Regions from separate parts of the Homo sapiens genome. Here all the other regions are linked to region 2. The links are contacts of gene promoters, found by promoter capture Hi-C in blood cells and fetal thymus (Javierre and others, 2016). All regions are on one chromosome and are shown on one strand. Each heading gives the region's core, a stretch centred on a gene start or on the middle of the fragment in contact. The rest is flanking DNA. Distances are from core to core; before and after follow the strand shown.

Region 1 (4,873 bases), core at 675-3,174, 2.7 Mb after region 2:
GGCCAAGCTCCAATTATGCTGGTCATCATTGAATTGAAACGGTTTGCTTTGTATCAATTCTGAATAAATGATGCACTAAAAAACAGCAGACTTTATTTTGCCTAGAGCAGATTTTGAATTGTGGTATATGCAAATAATATGGTATTATATTATATGAGGTTTAACTATATAAAATGGCAACAGATTGCATAGTTCAATCACTAGGGTGATGAAAAATAATTGTTTTAAAATGTGCCATTGCCACTAAGGAAAACATTGGCACTATGTGCCCGGCACTGTGCTGGGTGCTGAATTTATTAAGCATTAATTTGAAAAATTGCTTTCACTTTCAAGACTGTGACAGTATTCTAAAACTCTCATTCATATTGTTTAAAGGTTAAGTGAAATTTGCAATACACAATACAGCCATTACATAACAGGCACAGAATACAGTTTCATGACTTGGATAGTTTTTGTTTTTTAAGCGCATTAGCAACTTCATTTCCAAATGCTATCAAATTCTTCAGGATATGAAAACCTACATATAAGAATGGAGTGCCTCATCGGCTCATTTGTCTTATGTAATAAGTGTTTTAACACGGGCATGCCGTTTCAGAATTTCGGGTGAGACTAAGCTGTACTTTAGCTTTTTTGTGTCAAGCAAAAACAATTTCAGCAACAACACTCGCTTCCCCTGGTAATTTTTTTCATGGCGAATTACTAAATGCTAGATGCTCAAGTCAAAAAGAAACCTGACATCTGGGGAGGTGTTGAGGGGGTGTTAATAGTTCTAGTGAGATGTCTGGGGAGCGTTGAGGATACGATTTTTCAAACAGCAAATACAAGGATAAGGGGAAATTATGGTTTCGTATGACTCTCTCCTCCTTCCACTTTCTCGTTTCACCAATCTGTGGCCCCCCCAATTTAGAGGCGGGTTCAGTGAGATTAGGCTGCAGGAAACCGAGAGGCTCCACCGCGCTGCCGCCCCGGCCTCGTGATGTAATTGTTATTTCTTATTCGGAGACCGAACCGAGGAGAGCTGCTGAAGAAGTAGCAGCCCTGCTCCTTTTCCCTTGTCTTGTTGGGTCAGATCCTTCCCGGGGATGATGCAGATTGGCTGACAGACTCCGCTGGAGACTTCGCAGTGACAAAGCAGCCGAGGATTAACCCTGCTCCTGGGTCCTACGTCTGTCCAGGGAGCTGAGCGGGGCGCTCCTCAGGTCTCCTTCCTAGTTTTCCTCCCAGAGTCGCTCCACACGAGTGCTGGGCGCCTACTACGTGCTGGGCGTGGGGTCAAAGTGACCCAGAGTTCGCGCCCGTGCCCCCCAACATTAAAGCAGGACACACAGATTACAAGGAGATAGAAATTGGGGGTGGGTGGGTGAAAGGGGGCCCAGAGAGCGCGTGTTGTGGGGTGAAGGGGAGGAGGTAGACGCTTAAGGCAGGCGGGGACCCTGGAGCGTCTGGGGCGCCCCGGCCCCCAGGCTGTGCCCAAACGGGAGCATTCGGCCTGGGTCCCAAGAGCGCTTTCCCCGGTCCCCAGGAGGAGCTGTCCAGGCGCCTGCAGCGGTCGCGGGCGGCTGGACAGAGCTGGGAGCCCGGGGGACGGCCCGGGCGCGCCGTGCAGCCCCTCTCTCGGGGACGCGGTCCTCTCGCTGCCTCCGGGTCTTGCAGCCCCGTCTGGGACACCCGGAGAGCAGGCGAGAAGGAAATCCACGAAACAGAGGGGGTTCCGCAGCTCCTGTGAGCCGCCCGGATCCGCGCGGCTTCCTCCTGACCGGGTGACAATGGGAGGGAGGGGGAGAAAAGGGTTAAGAAACTTGGCTGAAGAGCTGAATGGCGTGGGGCGGCGAGGGGAGGGACTGGGCCGCGGCGGACTCGGCGGCGGAGGGAGGAGCGCGGCTGCGGGCGGGCGGTGAGCGAGGCGCTCAAAGTCAGCCTCGCAGACATTGCAGCAGAGCCCCGAACTCGGGAGGCGGCGGCGGAGGAGGCGGCGGCGAGGCGCAGGGACGACCCGGCCCCACGCCCGCCCGCCACCCGCGCGCGCCCGTCCGCCCGTGGCCTCGCGTCCGCCGCTGCGCCGTGAGCGCCGCTGGTCGGAGGGAAGAGCTCGCCGGGGCGCCGGGCCAGGACGGGGCGGCAGGCGCCTTCGCGGACCGAGCCTGACGGAGCCGGAGGCTGGGAGCCGCGGCGGCCTGGGGTGAGTGACGGCCGCGGCCAGGGCGCCAGGAGTAGCGGCCGCCGGCGCCGCCGGAAACGGCCCGGGAGCGCGGCCCGCGTCGGCTCTCGCTTGGCTGGCAGGGCCGCGGGGGCGTCGGGGCGGCGGGGAGGGCGCGTTTCCGGGGAAATCCTGCCTCTGCTGCCTGGTTCGAGTCTCCGGGTTCTCGCGGGGGGCCGGGGCGGCGGGCCGGCAAGTTGTGGAGTGGCCCCGGGTCGGCCCGCCCGTCCGTGCCAGTTCTGGGCAAGGGGGCGGCCGTCGCGTGGCCCCTGAGCGGGGCCGGACTCGGGGGGCCGGGTCGGGGTTGCCCCCGCTCGCTTGCCCTCTCGGTCCCGAACCCCGGGCACCGCTCGCCTCGCCGCTCTCCGTCCTGCTGTCCAGCCGGATCCTGGGCGGCGCCTTTCGCCTGGGTGCCTCCCTGCTCCTTGCTCGCTGGATACCCGGCTGGGAAAGTGAATAGGAAAAGGGACAGCTCGCCCGGCCCCCACCCGACCCCGGGCCGCTCTGCCCGCACTCGCGGTCCCCTCCCGATGGCGAGGCTCACGGACCCGAGGCCTCAGCCATCATTTTACCAGGAGCCAGGGGCCGGCCCCCATTTAGGGTGAGCCCGGTGGAAGTCCGGGAGGCTGCCTTTTCTCCCTTCTTCTGTGTCCACCTTATTACGATTGAATATTGTTTTATGAAGGTTTCCGTGGATGTATTCTGCAGACCCTCCCATCCCTTCCAAAGTAGTTTCCCAATTTTGATCAGGAGTTGGTGTTCAGTCAGAAGGAACAAAGGAACCAACTGTGTCTTAGAGGCGGACAGGCTGGGAGTCTGTGACACATGTTGATCTCTGAAGCATTCCAGGAGTTTCTACCTTTTATCACGTCAATAATTGGCTGCTGAAGGTAGTAAAAGAAGTACGGAATGATAAGCACTTTTGCGTTTTAAAAATATTTTTTAATGGCACATTTTACTTTGGGGAAAAAAGACGTTCTTAGGCACAAGGATTTTTAAAAACCCAGTTGGTGGAACTGAGTTGGAGTTTGTTTCTGGTATTGTAAATGATTACATGTGGGATTGTGAAGGAAATTGTGTCCTTAGAGGAAGAGAAGCCATCTGTAGGTGTCCATAGTAAAAATGGTTGTCGGGTTATATGTGATGAATGCTCTTTCTGTTTCTTGGGGGAATTTGTGAAGCAAGGGGCTTCGGTAATTCATTCTTTAAAGTTATGAATTGCATTGAACCTGCTTATTAGTGAATCATAGGTTTAGTAAGTGGGTGGCATTATTCAGTGTTTAATCATCAGTTTTCCACCTTTGTTGAAGAGACAGTGAAATAATAGACTTTTTAAACAAATGGTGTTTCATCTGCCTGGCCCCTAAGTGTCGGTTGCCGCCTGGAGTATGTTGAAGTGTTTTTCACCTTCCAAGTAAGTGAGTTGCTCTGGTTTTGCCCGGCAGTTCGGTAACGTCGATAGGGTTTATTTGGTTCAGGGAGCACTGGCTTCATCACCTACAGTAACTTTTTTTCTGCCTGGGCATAGTTCCTAGAGACAAAGAAGGAGAATCAATTAGTGGAGCGGCTACTGCCCTGCAGGTTGTAGGATTGGTTGTTCTAGTCTGTTTCATACTCTGGTGGAGAAAGACCTCTTTCCAAACTTACCTTTAAAAGTGCCCTAGGAGTGTGAGTAAAATATACATCAGAACATAACAGAAAAAAAAAAGGACTGTTCGTTGTTGATTTTATTCAAATGAGTTAGTTGAAAAACCAGGTTTAATGCCTGTGGGAAGTTAGTTGAAAACCAGGTTTAATGCCTCTTTTACATGCATTTCTAAACTCTGCAGAACTTGGATTTTGCTAATTTTAACACCCTAAAATATTGTTAACTTTGCACTAAAGAAGTGTGTGAAGAGACTAAAGGCTTTTCTGACTCTTGCAGTTATAAGTGCAAAACATCATGATAAAAAATAACCTATACCACCACCTAGAGTCTGTTTGTTAGTTTATTGCTCATGAAGTTTGCTTAAATTGACATGTCTGTTACAGTTCTGATATAGTCGAAAATGATTAAGAAGTACTAGCTTTCAAAAGCCCGTCCAAGAGAACAATTATTTAAGTAATAAATAGCAAGTGCCACTTTAAATTATCCGTGCCACCTTTAGAATTGAAAATTATGACATATCAAGTTGAGTGGGCTATTCTCCAAAAGATGTTAATTCAGAAGATTTTAAAACGGAGTTTTCAGTTTGTGCGCCAAGGCAGTTCTGATTGCTTAAAGACTTCTGCGTTGTTATCAGAGATTCAAGAAATCTTCCCAATCAGATGCCATTAGAACTTTTTGAAGTCCAGATGAAACAAAAGCAAAAATACAGGAGAGCATTACAACTACAGAAATTCTGGAAATTCAGAAGTTAAGAGAGAACGCAGCCCATGACAGAGTTGTGATTCAGAGATATGAAGAGTAAAATCAATGTGAATTAAAGTGATAATCTGTTTTGCTGGTAGTTTATATGTGGTAAAGCAGTCTATTAAATGAGAGACCTTAGGGAGGCAGCTTTGTTGCCATGTGGCTTATCACATTGTCCATGGAGGAAGTAATGTTCCTCCTTTAAGTGGTGTAGCCTGAGAGAAAGATGGCCTCCAAGATCTTTAATTAAATACCAGTTGAACAGAAAGAACTAGAGCACTGTA
Region 2 (4,700 bases), core at 1-2,500:
GCCTAGGATGATCAGAACTGATATGCTTTGTAGAGAACAGAACTGTTTCCTTGGTATCAAATCAGTTTCATTGTGACACTTTGCCCAATGCATAGATTTCAGTTAGAGTTCTTGAAATATAAATCATAGCACCGGCTTTCTGCATACTAAAAATGAAAGTTTTTAAATCTTTTACAGAAGTTTTTGAAGAGTTAACTCACCAAGTGCAAGAAAAAGATTCTTTGGCCTCACAGCTCCATGTCCGCCACGTTGCCATCGAACAGCTTCTGAAGAACTGTTCTAAGTTACCATGTCTGCAAGTAGGGCGAACAGGAATGAAGTCGCACCTACCCATAAACAACTGACCTAAACAGACTTACTTCGTATGCCCTGCCCTTTATTGGTCTCCCAGACATGCAAACTTTGAAGAAGTTTGAAGAAAGTTGTGGTCCGTTTTTTTATGGTCATTAAATTTGCCAAACATAAGGCAGTATTTAACATCTTTGTCAAATAAAGCAGATCATTATACTCTAGTCTTCTAGGGCTAATCATTTTGGCTCATTTGGGGACTCTTTTTTCCCAGAATTACTAAACAAATTTTATCACATGTGACTACTTAAATATACTGTTACAGTGTCATTTTATTAAACATTTTAATTCACCTGTCAAAACAACAGATTAACTCCTTAGTGTAAACTACTAGAGATAATTTTTAAGAGGGAAATGGAATTCATATCACCTCTTATTTATTATGAGCAATATTTTAATATAAAAATTTTATATGTGAAAATGCTATTTTAGGTACTTTGCCATTCTCTTTATAAATGTGTATTTGAGTGGTTCTGTATATTTATTTACATTATCATGTGTGAATATGTTCACCCATATTTCAGGTCACTGCATTTTATTCTCTTAATACAATGTTTTCACAACGGTTACCTTGCTTTCCAAAGATAAATATATTTTGGATTAGAAATCTGAGTTGTTTTAATTTCTAATACCTCTTGTAAAAGAAGAATTAATAACTTTTTAAAGCAGTATTCAGGTAAATACAATACATTATTTTGTTTTCTAACAAAAGCAGTTCTTAGTTCAGGAAGAAAAGACTAATCTGGCTTCTATGTCAATTTGTCTCCATAGAAATGAAAGCCTCCTCTTGCTTCTTTCATTATTAGCTTCACACCAGTGACTGTGATGCATTAGAATTTGGACAGAGTAAGTCAAGCCTCACTTCCAATTCAAATATAATGTCTATCTTCAAATTGAGTGTGCTGTGAAATTGTTCTGTCTTTGAAAAAAAAAAGTAAGATTATTTTGTGTGCCACTTTGGGTAAAGTTTCAAGAATACTTAAACTGTCCAAATTGTATTATCACCATCATTGAACTTAGTGCTCAAAGAAAGCATTGTGAGGTATTTTTCTAAACTTTAGACTCTATAGAGAAATATAGGATTGTTCTACAGAAGAAAAGCAAAACTCCTAATTAAAAAAAAATAAACCTATGTATTAAGAGAATGTTCTCGTAAGTTGCCTATGATGCTTCCAAAGAGTTTTTATCTAACAGATTGTGCCAAACAGCTAGATAAATTTTAATAATGTATTACAGTAAAGGCTATAACCAATGCAGAATTAAAATGGGCTCTAAATTCTGTTTTTAACTCATGTTTAGAATGTACTTATGAGGTAGATCCTTGCTTGAAAGTATCTGCTGAAAAGCCCAGTAACGTGGCAGCTTCATGCATAAAGATATAAATGACATTTGCCTTAAATTTGGCAGCCTACCCTGGCTTGGGTCAGATTTTGTTGTTGAACACAAGAAAGTATTTAAGCAAAGAAACACTTCAGTTTAATTGAAAACAACTTTTTGTAATGCTGACGTGTTAAATTGGCCTGAGGGTATTAATTGATATCTGTTGATTTTGTTTTTCTTTGAAGTATAACATTACTTTTTGGAGGGAATTTTTGAAAGATGCTTTCGATTTCTCTCAATTCTTTAAGTCATGCAAAATGAATTTAAAATCCAGGGAGTATGGATGCATTGCCTTAGTTTTGATGAGCTTTAAATTAAATGTGTGCAATATCAAAATATTCAAACTTACAAGCTGGGTAAATACATTTCCTGATTAATATCTTAGTGCTTAATTGTTCCCACATTTTCAAATTTGACTTTACTCTTTTTTGGCGTAATTCAGTAAGATTGTTACCAGCCAGTGTGTTTGCACACATTTGGGTTTGTGTTTAGATGAGTTAGGGACAGTCATAAAAGTTGGGGATATGTTGCATTTGATATCAATAGTAGCATATTTCCAGAATATGAGCCATAAGTTGCAGTCCTGAATACAACAGTGTTATCCAAAGAAAGGAGTTTTCTGACAAATATACATAGCTTTGCTAATGAGTACGGAACAAGTGGATGAACGTGTGCATGTGCTAAGGTCTTAAGTGGGACTCTGATTTATTCCATTTAGATATTTCTACTTAAGCTCTAAAAAGGAGAGGTGCTCTTAAAAAAAACTTTGTGGTGCTGGTACTCACACTACTTTATTTGGATGAGTTCCTAGTAAAAAAAACTTTTTGTTGAAGTATTTTGCACAGCAGTTTATCCAAATGTTTGGTAAACTTATAATTTAGTCCTATGTTAGTTTTCTTAATCAAATATGCAATTACTGTGTATGCAAATATAAGTATCAGGTACAGAGTTGAGTTCTAACAAGAGAACATGAAATATCACAAATATTGTTTTCCACACTTGGCTATTCTCTACAGTTGTTAGTAATTTTTGAGAATGTTTTGAAGCATATCTCATGTACTACTGTTTAAAAAGTGGCAAAACAGACTGCCAGTCATCCATTACTAAATTTTCAGAGCTTATATGATTAAGGGGAGTGAGATAAGACAAATCTTTTTCACGTTCAGTTTTATAATTTGACACGTTAAATTGAGTTTTAAAAATTAGAAAAGTGTTTTTGACCACACAGGTTGTTCTCTTTAAAGTTCAGCCTTATAATGAAGCTAAAAATCAATTATGTTTTACTTTGAGATTATCATCTTATCCTTTGATCCTCATATTAATATCTAAATTAGTCTTTTTTAAAAGGCATGCACTTGAGACTCCAGTAATAGATGATTCAGGCAGCAGAATAGTGTTTTGTTGTGTCGTTGACTATGCACAATGGTGGAGCAAAGACACATTCTTAGTTTTTCAAAACACATGTTCATTTTACCACAAAGTGCCCATTTTTATATACATTTAAGGATTATTTTTTCAATGTCAAGTTCATGTTAGTGATTTCAGAAATATAGTCAAAATATATAGTCAAATATATCTTGACAGGCATCTTGAGATTTGGTTTTTCATTTTACTATATTTATGACTGAAAATGGTTTTGTGTTTTCTTTATGTTGTTTATATATTTTTTACCTTAGTGTTTACACTGGTAAGGCTTGTTAGTCCATTTTTGTAGTTTTTTTAAAGTAAGCTTTTAGATCTATTTGTGTTTTAATGTTTCCCAGTTTGGGTTTTGTTTTGTTTTGGAAGAATCTGCTTTCATTATTAAATTATAAAATGTAAATGCTCTAAAGTAGGAATTTTTAAAGAGTAAATTATTTGTGTAGCTTATTAGGAGGTTCAGGTTAGTGACCATAAAGTGGGTTACTTGTACATGAAAATTTGAAATGGTACCATGTAAAATTCTTCTATTGTCAACTTTTTCTGATGTATGCCAGTTCATTTACTGACAAATGTTGTTACTAAGTGCTTATTAAGAAGTGTAATACGCTATAAAAAAGTTAATACTTTTTGTTCAGATGTAAGGCAAAGATAATTGATGCCGTTTCAGTGTATGATTGTATTTTTAACTTTTACGTTGGTGGGAGTAACTATTTGAGGAAATTTGTGGTGAGAATTAGTAAGAGATAAAACCCCCAACAGTTTATTCTTACCAAGTAAAGTTTTGTGGTCATGGGGCAGGGAAGAGTTTATTTACCAGAATACTAGAGCCCTCACACAAAATAAAGGTAACTTGGAGGAGGGCTATAATGCTTGCATCTCAGTATTTTCATTTCACTTCATCCTTTCATAATTGCCTTGATTATGGTGCAGTCTAACCTATTAAGCAACTTCTGGCTATGGTAACATTGATATGAACCATATTATATCAAGTCTCCAAAACATCTAGTTTGTTAACATACACTTTCCCTGTTCTTTTTAGTTTGAGTCCACATTACTAATACATTTTAATAATATTTAATTATTTCACAATTTTAAGTTTACCAAAGTAAACAAAAATTCATGAAGATGAGTATTGCCCTCTCCCAAAAAAGGTTTAAAGATTAGTTGAACTTCCCTCAACTACACCTAAAGCAAAGGGGAATTTTAGTAAGTGTGTGTACCTTGTTTCTTTCAGACGCATCTAGAATGTTTTTCTTTCACCGTACCTCCAAAAGAGGCAATTTAGAAAGTATTAAGTAGTGACTTTTGTTCAGTTCCATTTTGTGTGTGTGTGTGTGTGTGTGTGTGTGTGTGTGAACCTTGCTTTAAAACAGTAGCGTATACTATGGTCATTGAACTTAATCTCTCTGGTGTTAGAAATTTACTTTACAAAATTGTGTTAAGACTTTTGGAAAAAGAAAATGAAACTGCTGTGGTAAAAACCAAGTTTGTTTCAAAAAAGTAGGCAATTATTTGGCTGTTATATTTTCTTTGAAAACTGCAATAATTTA
Region 3 (4,381 bases), core at 1,409-3,908, 2.1 Mb after region 2:
AATTCTAAAAATAATCTCAAAGCAAAAATTTAGCAGGCTGTATGTAGACAGCCCATTTTAGAACAGGTCTTATTCTAAAGTCAAGCACAGGTAGAATATTGCAATCTACACCAAATCTACAACAGGGTGGGGCATTCATTACTCACCCAGATAAACCAAACATAACTCTGGTGGTTGATCACAGTAAACCCTAACTGTCCCCGTAATACCAACACAACTAAGGCACGGTTTACTCTTTTGCCCAAAATGCTTTTCACGCAAATTAAAAATTAAAAAAAGAAGTTAAATCATGGCCAACTACTCTTCAGAACATGGTGCAAGCCATGATAGTGCACTTAAGATTCTGAAAGCAAAATCTAAAATAGCAGAATGATCTCTATTCACTTTAAAGATATAAAGTTTCACAAACAGTTTTTTAATTGTTTTCTTTAGTGAGTGACCATTTGAATGTGTGACTGATGCAAGAGTAAAGGGTGAACGAAAGAACAAGGTCAAACTTAGGGGACAAAAGATTCCTGGAATAACATGGCCAGAAAGGTTTCCTCTCTTAGGGACAGTTTCTATATTGAAAAAAAAAAAAAAAAAAAAAAAAACAGAAAAGAAGAAGAAGAAAGGGAAACCTTAAAAGGAAAAGAAACCAAGCAAACCACCTACTTCTAGAGTCCACCTGGTCAACACGCCTGCCCCGCGAGGCAGGTAATTCGATTTTGGTGGAGACCGTTTTGCAAAATAGCAGGCCTGGTACACTACTACCTTTGAAAGACAAAATCGGTTCAGAAAGGATGACAACTAGCTATTCTTTCTCATTTAAGGGGAGAGAATAAAGTTTCATTAAGATGCCACACAGAGCACTGTAGGAATGTGAGGGTCGCTCTCAATACCTGGCACCGTCTGCTACGGGAAAACAATCGGCAGAAGGAAGTGGATTGAAGCCCGCAAACTACACTCTGCTTCCCACACGCAGCTGGGCTCTGGGCGCGACGCCCCCGAGGCGATGGGCAGGGGCCGGGGGTGACCGGGGAGGAAGCCCGGGAAGGCGGCGGCGGCGAGGCCGGGGCGCCCGGCCGCAGCGGGAGAGGACAGCCCGTCGGAAGGAGAAGTGGGGCCCGCCGGCTGGCGGACTCGCCTCACCTTCTGCGCCGCGCTCTGCTGCAGCACGTTCTGCTCCACGGTCATGGCCCCCGCGGCGGCGGCGGCGGCGGCGGCGGTGGCGCCCGGCTCCTCGCGCCTCCGCCGGCCCTGGCTGCCGCGCTCCGCCGAGCTCCAGGGAGCGGCGCGGACGGCCTGGGAGGACAGCGCCCCCGCCAGCCAGGCGCGAAGGCGATGGCGGCCGGCGTGCGCGGGCACCGCGGGCAGGCGGCGAAACGCCGACTGTGAGGGCCACGGCGGCCGCCTCACGTCTCCACGCGGCCCGCCTCAGCGCCGCTCGTCCGCGGCGGCCCGGGCCATGAGCGGGCGGAGGACGCCGGGGCACGGGAGAGCGCGAGCCAGTCGGGCGGCGTCACGCGTTCGCACGTTCCTTTGCTGCCGGTCCGCGGGCTGCTTTGGGGAAGGGAGAGAGGGGACGGAGGGAGCGGCCGCCCGGAATGGCGTTGTCCTCCTCCCTCCGCGAGTCCTCCTCCCTCCCCTCCCCCACGCGCCATCCCCGCCCCCGCCCGGCGGCTCCTCCCCCGCAGAGCCCCGCCCGCCGGCCGCCCTAACCCTACATTGTGACCCTCCGGGCGGCGGGGCGGGGCCGCCATGGAGCCCCGCCCCTCCCTGCGCGGGCCTGGCGTTCCCGGGTGGGGCGAGGGCGCGCCTGGCTGCCTGGCCCGGGAGCCGCCCCTGCGGCAGGTTGCGCGACGCTGGCGCTGGGCTTCGGGGAGCGCGACTGGAGGCCGGAGGGCAGCGTTCCTCCCTGCGCCCAGGGCTTGTCGGATCCCTAGCTTACCCAAAGCCTCCAAAGCAAACATTTCCCTCCATGCCCATAACGTCCCAAAACTGCGTAGGGTCCCGAACTCCGGCCCCTTTCTGTGTCACGCGTTCTCTCCCCTCGCCTTTCTAGGAATTTCACAAGCCTTGAACTTGCCTGAAGGGAAAAGTCAAATAAGCAAAGGGTTGCCAGAAATCTTTATGCTGGGAAGTACTTTTCTCCTTAACTAATCATTACGTAAATGAATATAGACATTTTCTATCTACCTTCATTCATTCGAATATGTGTCAGTCACTGCTAGGCTCTGGAAAAATAAAGTTTATCTTCCCAAGACTTAATATAAATGAAATAGGATCTATCTAGCAAACAACCTTACAAAAATATCACTGCCTAATGATACATAATTCTAATATCCCAGTTGCCAAATTAAGCAAACAATTAACTACCATGCATGGAATGCTTGACTATATATGGAATTGTAAGGAAAATCTAACATTAAGAAAGCAATCTCTAGCCACAAAAATATCTCGAGTTCCAGGAGCTAATCTGGGAACGGAGGTGAGAGTGCAGCAGTGTGAGGAGAGAAATTATCAATGCATATTGTCACAAATAGAATACACTTGAAAATCCGGGTATAATTTTTAATCCAATGACAAGGAAAGCAAGCTTGGCAAATGCTAATTGAAATAGTATGTGGTGTTATTTAATAATCATGGATTATAGTAGCTCTTAAGGCTTTGTAACAGTTCTGTGCACTTTACAACCATCTTTGTTCTGCAGCTCAGATGTCTGGTACCACCTGTTGTCACCTTTTCCTTGAAGCTTCATATTTGTTGACTCATTTGATATTTAACAAATTGCAAATCTTATTATATTAATATCCTATGTCTTTTCTAGAGGAAATGAAAAGTCATGAAACGGTTGGAAACAGAAATTTAGAAATACTGTCACATCTCTAATCTCACGTATCGATTTTTTTATAACTCTGAAGCCCAAGGAGGGTGACCTGTCAAAGAGAGCTTATCAAAACCCATTTTTCTTCATTTATAGATCAAAGTTTCTTCTTTTCTTGTTTATATGCTAACTTCATGTTTCTCCATATGAGGGTTTTGGTTTTTTGGTTTGTTTGTTTGTTTTTTAGAAATCAAGCTCATACATTTGAATTCAAGAAAATTAAATTTAACATAAAAATCTAGTAATCTAGTACCATGGGAGGAAAAATGTTGCCAGATACTAAGGTTTAATTTCAAGAATTTGGCAATACAACTTTTCTCTGAGTTAAATTTGTTACTTCCATACAGAAAAAAAAAGATGATCTTACAATAGATAATCATCAAATAGAGCTTTTATATGGTAGACCTATTTGCCCACTGAGACTGTTCATTTTCAGCTTACTTCTGAGGGTTTCCTACTTACTCAGCATTTCTTTAAATATTTTTAACTGTTGTACTGAAGAACATTGAGAAGAAAATTTCAAGTTTCCTCATAGGCATTCCTTTTTAGAAGGCTTACAATTGGGATGAATAATTAGAGAAATTTGAGCAATTGAGATAAATTGGCACACAAAACCCATCGCTGGGATTTCCTAACTCATTTTTTAAATTTGCGCCGTGACAATTGTGTTGTATGAGTCAGCTTTAATATGCATGTGTGTCGGAATTATATATCCTCAAGATATTATTTAATAACTTCTAAACTGCTACATTACTCTATGTTGTTGACATTCAGGTAAAAATGTTAAGTGACATATTTCATATAATATGAAATATTTTGTGTGTAACAATGCTGTGGTTTGAATGTATCCCCCCAAAAACGGTGTGATGGAAACTTAATCCCCAATGCAACAGTGTGGAGGTGGGCCCTAATAAGAGGTGATTCAGTTATGAGAGCTCTGACCTCATGAATTAATTAATGGTGCTATCACAAATGTGCAGTCCCTATCAAAAGGACAGTTTCCTTATAAAAGGACGAGTTTGGCTCCTTCTTGCCTCTTTCCCTTTTCCTTTCCTTCCCTCTCTCTCTTTCTCCCCTTCTCTTAGCTCTTCCACCATGCAATGATACAGGAGGAAGGCCTTCACCAAATGACGGCCCATCCATCTTGACCTTCCCTGCCTCCAGAACTGTGAGCCAACAAATTTCTGATCATTATCAATTACCCATTCATAGGTATTATGTTGTAGCAGCATAAAATAGACAAAGACAAACTGCAAGACTATTTTTCTGTTTTGGGTCAAAACGTTATTTCTAGCAATACTCAGTATTGTATTTTATATGTCAACTAAGAAAATTGGTATTCTTCCGCCTTAGGTATCTTTAGAAAGGGGTTAAAAATCCATTTCCGGATACCAAAAGTTTACCATATTGCCAAAACACATTTGTAGGACTTTTCTTTGTTTCCCCCCTAGCTGGTGTTGAGCTCCTGGTCTCAAGGGATCCTCCTGCCTCAGCCTCTGAAGTAGCTACCTGGAT

The links. Contacts are between HindIII fragments. The CHiCAGO score rates a contact against its expected background, and 5 or more counts as called.
Region 1: the fragment with the promoter of NRIP1 here is called in contact with the fragment with the promoter of C21orf91-OT1 in region 2 in 1 of 17 cell types (activated CD4 T cells); the score reaches 9.0 in activated CD4 T cells.
Region 3: a contact is called between a fragment that was not itself captured here and the fragment with the promoter of C21orf91-OT1 in region 2, in 3 of 17 cell types (total CD4 T cells, activated CD4 T cells and naive CD8 T cells). The highest score is 7.4, in total CD4 T cells.

What each region holds. Positions count from the first base shown.
Region 1 is chr21:15,062,051-15,066,923 of GRCh38, reverse strand. NRIP1 (nuclear receptor interacting protein 1) reads left to right here and starts at 1,924. Exons shown (of 4, transcript NM_003489.4): 1 at 1,924-2,179. RefSeq lists enhancers at 1,023-1,072, 3,523-3,572 and silencers at 1,403-1,582, 1,833-2,692. The HindIII fragment of the contact is 10,218 bases long and covers 1-4,873 here.
Region 2 is chr21:17,789,059-17,793,758 of GRCh38, reverse strand. It overlaps C21orf91-OT1 (C21orf91 overlapping transcript 1), which reads left to right and starts at 1,250. Exons shown (of 4, transcript NR_038871.1): 1 at 1,250-1,282. It overlaps C21orf91 (chromosome 21 open reading frame 91), which reads left to right. Exons shown (of 5, transcript NM_001100420.2): 5 at 178-4,700. The coding sequence ends at 344. All of the region lies in intron 2 of LOC124900465 (a long non-coding RNA gene), which reads right to left. The HindIII fragment of the contact is 3,892 bases long and covers 1-3,459 here.
Region 3 is chr21:15,727,189-15,731,569 of GRCh38, reverse strand. It overlaps USP25 (ubiquitin specific peptidase 25), which reads right to left and starts at 1,588. Exons shown (of 26, transcript NM_001283041.3): 1 at 1,132-1,588. The coding sequence starts at 1,176. RefSeq lists a silencer at 1,024-1,983. The HindIII fragment of the contact is 156 bases long and covers 2,581-2,736 here.